Linked DNA regions of Homo sapiens: region 2 is linked to region 1. The links are contacts of gene promoters, found by promoter capture Hi-C in blood cells and fetal thymus (Javierre and others, 2016). All regions are on one chromosome and are shown on one strand. The core of a region is centred on a gene start or on the middle of the fragment in contact, and the rest is flanking DNA. Distances in the headings are between cores, read along the strand shown.

The links. Contacts are between HindIII fragments. The CHiCAGO score rates a contact against its expected background, and 5 or more counts as called.
Region 2: a fragment that was not itself captured here is called in contact with the fragment with the promoter of LTC4S in region 1 in 2 of 17 cell types (neutrophils and monocytes); the score reaches 8.3 in neutrophils.

The regions. Positions count from the first base shown.
Region 1 is chr5:179,792,361-179,795,394 of GRCh38, forward strand. It overlaps LTC4S (leukotriene C4 synthase), which reads left to right and starts at 1,626. Exons shown (of 5, transcript NM_145867.2): 1 at 1,626-1,778. The coding sequence starts at 1,721. RefSeq lists enhancers at 814-1,441, 1,016-1,095, 1,116-1,265, 2,749-3,034 and a silencer at 1,616-1,685. The HindIII fragment of the contact is 38,202 bases long and covers 1-3,034 here.
Region 2 is chr5:179,639,378-179,642,411 of GRCh38, forward strand. It overlaps SPATA31J1 (SPATA31 subfamily J member 1), which reads right to left. Exons shown (of 6, transcript NR_131066.1): 5 at 2,949-3,034; 6 at 2,167-2,501. The region is part of intron 4 of LOC128966623 (a long non-coding RNA gene); the gene reads left to right. Among named protein-coding and RNA genes, the nearest start is that of SPATA31J1, 4.2 kb to the right of the region's middle. The HindIII fragment of the contact is 4,198 bases long and covers 1-3,034 here.

The DNA of each region.
Region 1 (3,034 bases), core at 376-2,875:
TGCACACAGACACCCTGGGCACAGCCCACTGGCACCAGCGTCAACCCCTGCGTGGTGGGCTGCATCCCACCCTTCAGGCAGGCCCTGTGGGGCAGGTTTCAGGGAGGAAGGAGGCTGAGTGGGCAGAGTCTGAGGACGCGGCCACCATCGCTCCCTGGCACTACATCTGTGTCCGGGATCTAGGAGGCAGTCCTCCATCACTGAGCCCCAAGATGACTGTCACAGCTTGGTCTAAAGCAGGGGCCGGGCCTGAGCCCTGGCCCCTGCCCTGGAGGAGCTCACAGAGCCCCCAGCTGGGGCATATCTGGTTTCCGGGGGCAGGGGCGATACCCAGAGGAGGAAGAAGGGATTCTGAGAGAGCCCAACAGGCTCCGAGCCTCAGGCTGGAGCTGAGCTTGGGGCAGCAAGGAAGGACCAGGTGCGAGGGCAGAACCATGCGGCCCGACCCCTGCAGCACGGCCTGTGGCCTCCCCCAGCTCCTGCCCGTGCTTCTGGGTCAGTCTGGACTTTGCCACTTCTGACCAAAAGCCACCGCAAACCCACTCAAGCCAAAAGAGGAAGTGACCGTTAGGCCCAACTGGGAAGGCTGGCGGCCAGGGGCACTCCAGGCAGGGCGAGGGGGGCGGCCGGGGGCGCTCCAGGCGGGGCGAGGGAGACACCCAGAACTCCAGGCAGGAGTCCTCGGGTGCCACCTTTCCTCTCCACCTGGCCCTGCGTGGGCTCTGTCCTCAGGGTGGCCCGCCGTAGTCCCCCTCCCCACTCTGAGTTTCCTGTCCCAAAGTCCTAAGGAAGTTTCCAGAACTACATCTCACCATCTTGAGTCAGCCTTGGCTCAGTGTCCATCTCACAGGCCTGGAAGGGGCAGGAGTCAGCACTGTCCAGACCACAGGGCCTGAGTGTGGGGAGGGCAGCCGTCTAGGAAGGTGGTGGAGGGTTGTTACCTTGAGGCAAGAGGGCTGCGGGGCAGAAAGACACAGCAGGTGACTGTTGTGGGAGGCCCAAGAGAGGCCTGGGAGAGGGATGGCCCACAAGGGCTGACCCTCCCGCCACCCAGGGGGCCTTGGACAGGTTTCCTCCTGGCAGGGTGGCCCTTGTGCATGGAACCCCTACAACGACTAAGGCTGGCAGGCATGAGGTTTCCTGAAGGAGAAAGAGCTTGTGGGGCCCAGTGTGGCTGGGGGGGCGCTGGGACTCCATTCTGAAGCCAAAGGCACTGGGAAGGGCTTCCGCAGAGGAGGGTTTGGCAGGGGTTGCCAGGAACAGCCTGGATGGGGACAGGGAACAGATAAGGTGGGTGGAGGAGTTAGCCGGGAGCCTGGGGCTGGCTCCAGCATGATGTGGGGGTCTGCAAGGCCCTGGAGAAAGTGGGGTGGTGCAGCAGGGGGCACACCCACAGCTGGAGCTGACCCAGATGGACAGCTTGGGCTCTGCCACGCGGGACTAGGCAAGGAAGGGGCACGAACAAGCAGGAAGTGGTGAGGCGGTCTCCAGCTAGCTGCTCTCCCCTGCCCAGACTTTGGTTTCCTCCCTGCTGGCTTGGCCTGGCTCCCTGGCTCTGTGTGGTATGGTCACACCCCCGTGCACCCCCTCCACTGAGATGGGGCGGGGAGAGCACCGAGGCTGCTCTTCCTCTCCTGGGCCGTCCTCTGAGCAGCAGACGGGGCTAAGCGTTCCCCAGCTCGCCTTCACACACAGCCCGTGCCACCACACCGACGGTACCATGAAGGACGAGGTAGCTCTACTGGCTGCTGTCACCCTCCTGGGAGTCCTGCTGCAAGGTGGGCTGGTTCCTATCTAGGAAGAGGGTGGGCCTTAGATCCCTACAGCTTGCCCTCTGCCCCCTAGGCCCAGGTGGAGGGCAGAGGTGGGGACTCCAGCCCAGGCCCAAGCTGGAAGAGGGTGGGGACTTTCAGGGAACTGGGGGGCACCTGGCTGTGAGAGCTGTAGGACTTGGGGGTGGCAAGGGTGCCAGGACAAATGGTAGGATAGCCATGGGCTTGGGGAAGCTGATCTCTGCTCTTTCCAGCTGTCCCCTCTCTGGGCGTCCCAGCAAGCGGCCCCCATTCCCTGGCTCTGCTTCAAAGGCACCTCCATACTGGGACCACGTGGAGCAGGGTAGAGGTGGGACTCCTTCCTCCAGCCCCCTAAAAAGAGCCTGCTTAATGCCTTTCTCAGACTGGCCCTAAAGGACACATTCCTTGGCCAGATATCCTTGCCACCTAAGAGACACCACTACTCCACAGTGTGTGGGCTAGGATAAGGCACAGCCTGGGGAGGGGGCTCTGAAGGGGCTGAACAGACAGGCCAGCCTGACCTCCAGCTGCTCCTGCACTGAGCTGGATGGCCACCCTGTGACACCCATCTGCAGAGGGCCCAGAACCAAAGGTGCCAGGGCTGCAGGACTCAGGGGGAGATGGTCCGACGGGAGGTCTGGGGAGGGAGCGCACAGCCAGCACTGGTCTGTGTGTGGTCTGGCCTGGCCTCACCTGACCAAGAGAAGGGCTCCTGCCCACAGAGAAACTTTAGGGCCAGCCCACCCTCTGCAACTACCCCAGCCCTGGGGTCCTGGGGTTAGGCTAGGAGAGTCCCAGCTGCAACCTCCTGGGAGCAGGAGAGAAGGTGTCTGTCAGATTTAGGCCTGGGACCGGAATGCAGGAACAGAGAAACTGAGGTTTGGAGGCACAGGGACGCAGGCTTTAGTGATCCCGGCCTGAGGCAGGGTCAGAGGGCCCTGCTGGTGGGCGCTGGTAGGTGGGTGACCAGGGACTGTTAGCTACAGGGAGTGTGCTTCCTTGCACCTGGGAGGATGCAGCCAGCTCTGCCCTCAGACTCCCGAGGCACTTCCTGGCCAGGGACCTGAAAGCTGCATTTGCCTGTGTTTTGAGAGTGAAATGATTCAGAAACAAGGACTCAAGTGGTCTCTCTCGCGGAGCAGGTGTCCCTGTGCCTGAATCACTCACCCTCCCCCATACACTCACAGGTTGGGACAGGGCCTCTCTGCGCCCCAGGCTTCAGCCCTGCCCTCCTCGCTGAA
Region 2 (3,034 bases), core at 361-2,860, 150 kb before region 1:
TGCCTGTAACCAGGCCGAGGCAGGGAGATCACCTGAGGTCAGGAGTTGGAGACCAGCCTGACTAACATGGAGAAACCTTGTCTCTACTGAAAAATACAAAATTAACAGAGCGTGGTGGCAGCGCCTGCTCATAATCCTTGGCATGCTGAGGCAGGAGAATCGCGTGAACCAAAGAGGTGGAGGTTCCGGTGAGCCAAGATCACGCCATTGCACTCCAGCCTGGGCAACAAGAGGAAAACTCCATCAAAAAAAAAAAAAGAAAGAAAGAAAGGAAGGAAGATTGATTATGAAGGCTCAAAAATGTAAGGAGCGGCCGGGCATGGTGGCTCACGCCTGTGTTCCCAGCACTCTGGGAGGCCGAGGTGGATGGATCATGAGGTCAGGAGATCAAGACCATCCTGGCTAACCCGGTGAAACCCCGTCTCTACTAAAAATTCAAAAAAAAATTTAGCCAGGCGTGGTGGCGGGCGCCTATAGTCCCAGCTACTCGAGAGGCTGAATTGGGAGAATGGCGTCAACCCGGGAGGCAGAGGTTGCAGTGAGCAGAGCTCCTGCCACTGTATTCCAGCCTGTGTGACAGAGTGAGACTCTGTCTCAAAAAAAAAAAAAAAAAAAAAAAAAATGTAAGGAGCAACCCACAGCATGAGGGAAAATATTTGCCAACAACAAATCAAACAACTCAATTCAAAAATGCATGAAGGGGACTGGTGCAGTGACGCATGCCTGTAATCCCAGCACTTTGGGAGTCTGAGGTGGGTGGATCACGAGGTCAGGAGTTTGAGACCAGCCTGACCAACATTGTGAAACCCCATCTCTACTAAAAATGCAAAAATTAGCTGGGCGTGGTGGCGTGCGCCTGTAATCCCAGCTACTCAGGAGGCTGAGGCAGGAGAATCGCTTGAACCTGGGAGGCAGAAGTTGCAGTGAGCCGAGATCGCGCCACTGCACTCCAGCCTGCGTGACAGAGCGAGACTCCGTCTAAAATAAATAAATAAATGAAAAAAATGCATGAAGGGGCCAGACCCGGTGGCTGAGGCAGGTGGATCACTTGAGGCCAAGAGTTCGAGACCAGCCTGGGCAACACAGCAAACCCCATCTCTACAGAAAATACAAAAATTCGTCAGGCATGGTGGTGTGTGTCTGTGGTCCCAGCTACTGGGGAGGTTGAGGCAGAAGGACTGCTTGAGGCTGAGAGGCAAAAAAAAAAAAAAAAAATAGCCAGTGGTTCATGCCTGTAATCCCAGCACTTTGAGAGGCTGACGCCAGCAGATCAGTTGAGGCCAGGAGTTCGAGACCAGCCTAGGCAGTGGTGGCCAGCACCTATAATCCCAGTTACCCGGGAACCTGAGGCAGGAGAATCGCTTGAACCTGGGAGGTGGAGGTTGCAGTGAGCCAACATCGCGCCACTGTACTCCAGCTTGGGCAATAAAGTGAGACTCTGTCTCAAACAAACAAACAAAAAGGCCGAGCGGGGTGGCTCACACCTGTAATCCCAGCACTTTGGGAGGCTGAGGCGGGCGGATCACGAGGTCAAGAGATGGAGACCATCCTGGTCAACATGGTGAAACCTTGTCTCTACTAAAAATACAAAAATTAGCCAGGCGTGGTGGCGGGCGCCTGTAGTCCCAGCTGCTCAGGAGGCTGAGGCAGGAGAATGGCTTGAATCCAGGAGGTGGAGATTGCAGTGAGTTGCGATCTCGCCACTGCACTCCAGTTTGGGTAACAGAGCAAGACTCCGTCTCAAAAAAATAAAACAAAACAAAACAAAACTGAGTAGTTCAACAGCTTAAGCCATGTTGGCTGAACATTAAGACTTTGTCAAATCCTAAGGAACAAAATAATATTAAAATTAGGAAGAATTATTTTGCCATAGGATAAAATAGAAATACTGCCATACATTTGACTTACTTGTTTAAAAACCAGACCTCACAAACCTGACCCAAGTTATGTGCAAAATAATGTGCCAGTTGCACAGCCCCTGGAGGCCAGTGTGAGCCCACATGCCTCTGCTGGTTTATTTCTAGAATCCACTCGCTGTGGGTCTTGATCGTGTTTCCAAAACAAGGAAGTCACCCATCTCTAGTTCAGGCCTTGTTACCAATGAAATTTTAAAATATGACATTGATACCATTTGACTGGACAATAACTAAAATTGGACAAAGAAGATATTTTCCTCTCATTGGAGGTTGCAGCATTTTATTCAGGTTTACAATTTATGATTCATCCAGCCGTGGTGGCTCAAGCCTATAATCCCAGCACTTTGAGAGGCTGAGGTGGGCAGATATCTCAAGGTCAGGAGTTCAAGACAAGCCTGGCTAACATGGTGACACCTTCTCTCGACTAAAATTACAAAAATTAGCTGGGTGCGGTGGCACAAGCCTGTAATCCCAGTTACTCGGGAGGCTGAGGCAGGAGAATGGCTTGAATCCGGGAGGCGGAGGTTGTGGTGAGCCAAGATGGTGCCACTGCACTCCAGCCTGAGCAACAGAGTGAGACTCCATCTAAAAAAAAAAAAAAAAATTGTGATTGTGTAAACTGTGACTCAGGGAACTGCAGAGAACAGAAGTTTGCAGGTCTACACGTGGAATCTGCAGTTCTGTTAGGAGAGACTGGCATTGCAAAAGAGCAGCAATTCCTGAGCATCTTCCCCAGCAGAGAGCCCATTCTGGGGGCAATGTTGACAATGACCCAGAGTCTCTGGGTTCTCCAGTGGGGGGCACAGCTGATGTTATCCCTCCTGTGCTGGCAGTTTTCTAAGTGAGTTCAGATCCTCTAGGAAGGAAGATCTGTGTGTGCAGCGCTGTGGAAGAGGTCTCTGTGGGCGCCAAGCCTCCCAAGGAGATTTACGGGCTCCAGGGACTGGAGGTTTGGACCCCATCTCCGTCTCTCCCAATCCATTAGAACATGCATTTCCAGCATCTGTGGGGTGCGCAGATGAGGGGACGCACCTCCAAGTTGTCCTCAGGAGATTCCCAATTGTTCGTGGATGTCGGATATTCGGTGTCCATGGGAGTGTCTGGGATTTTGGTGTCTT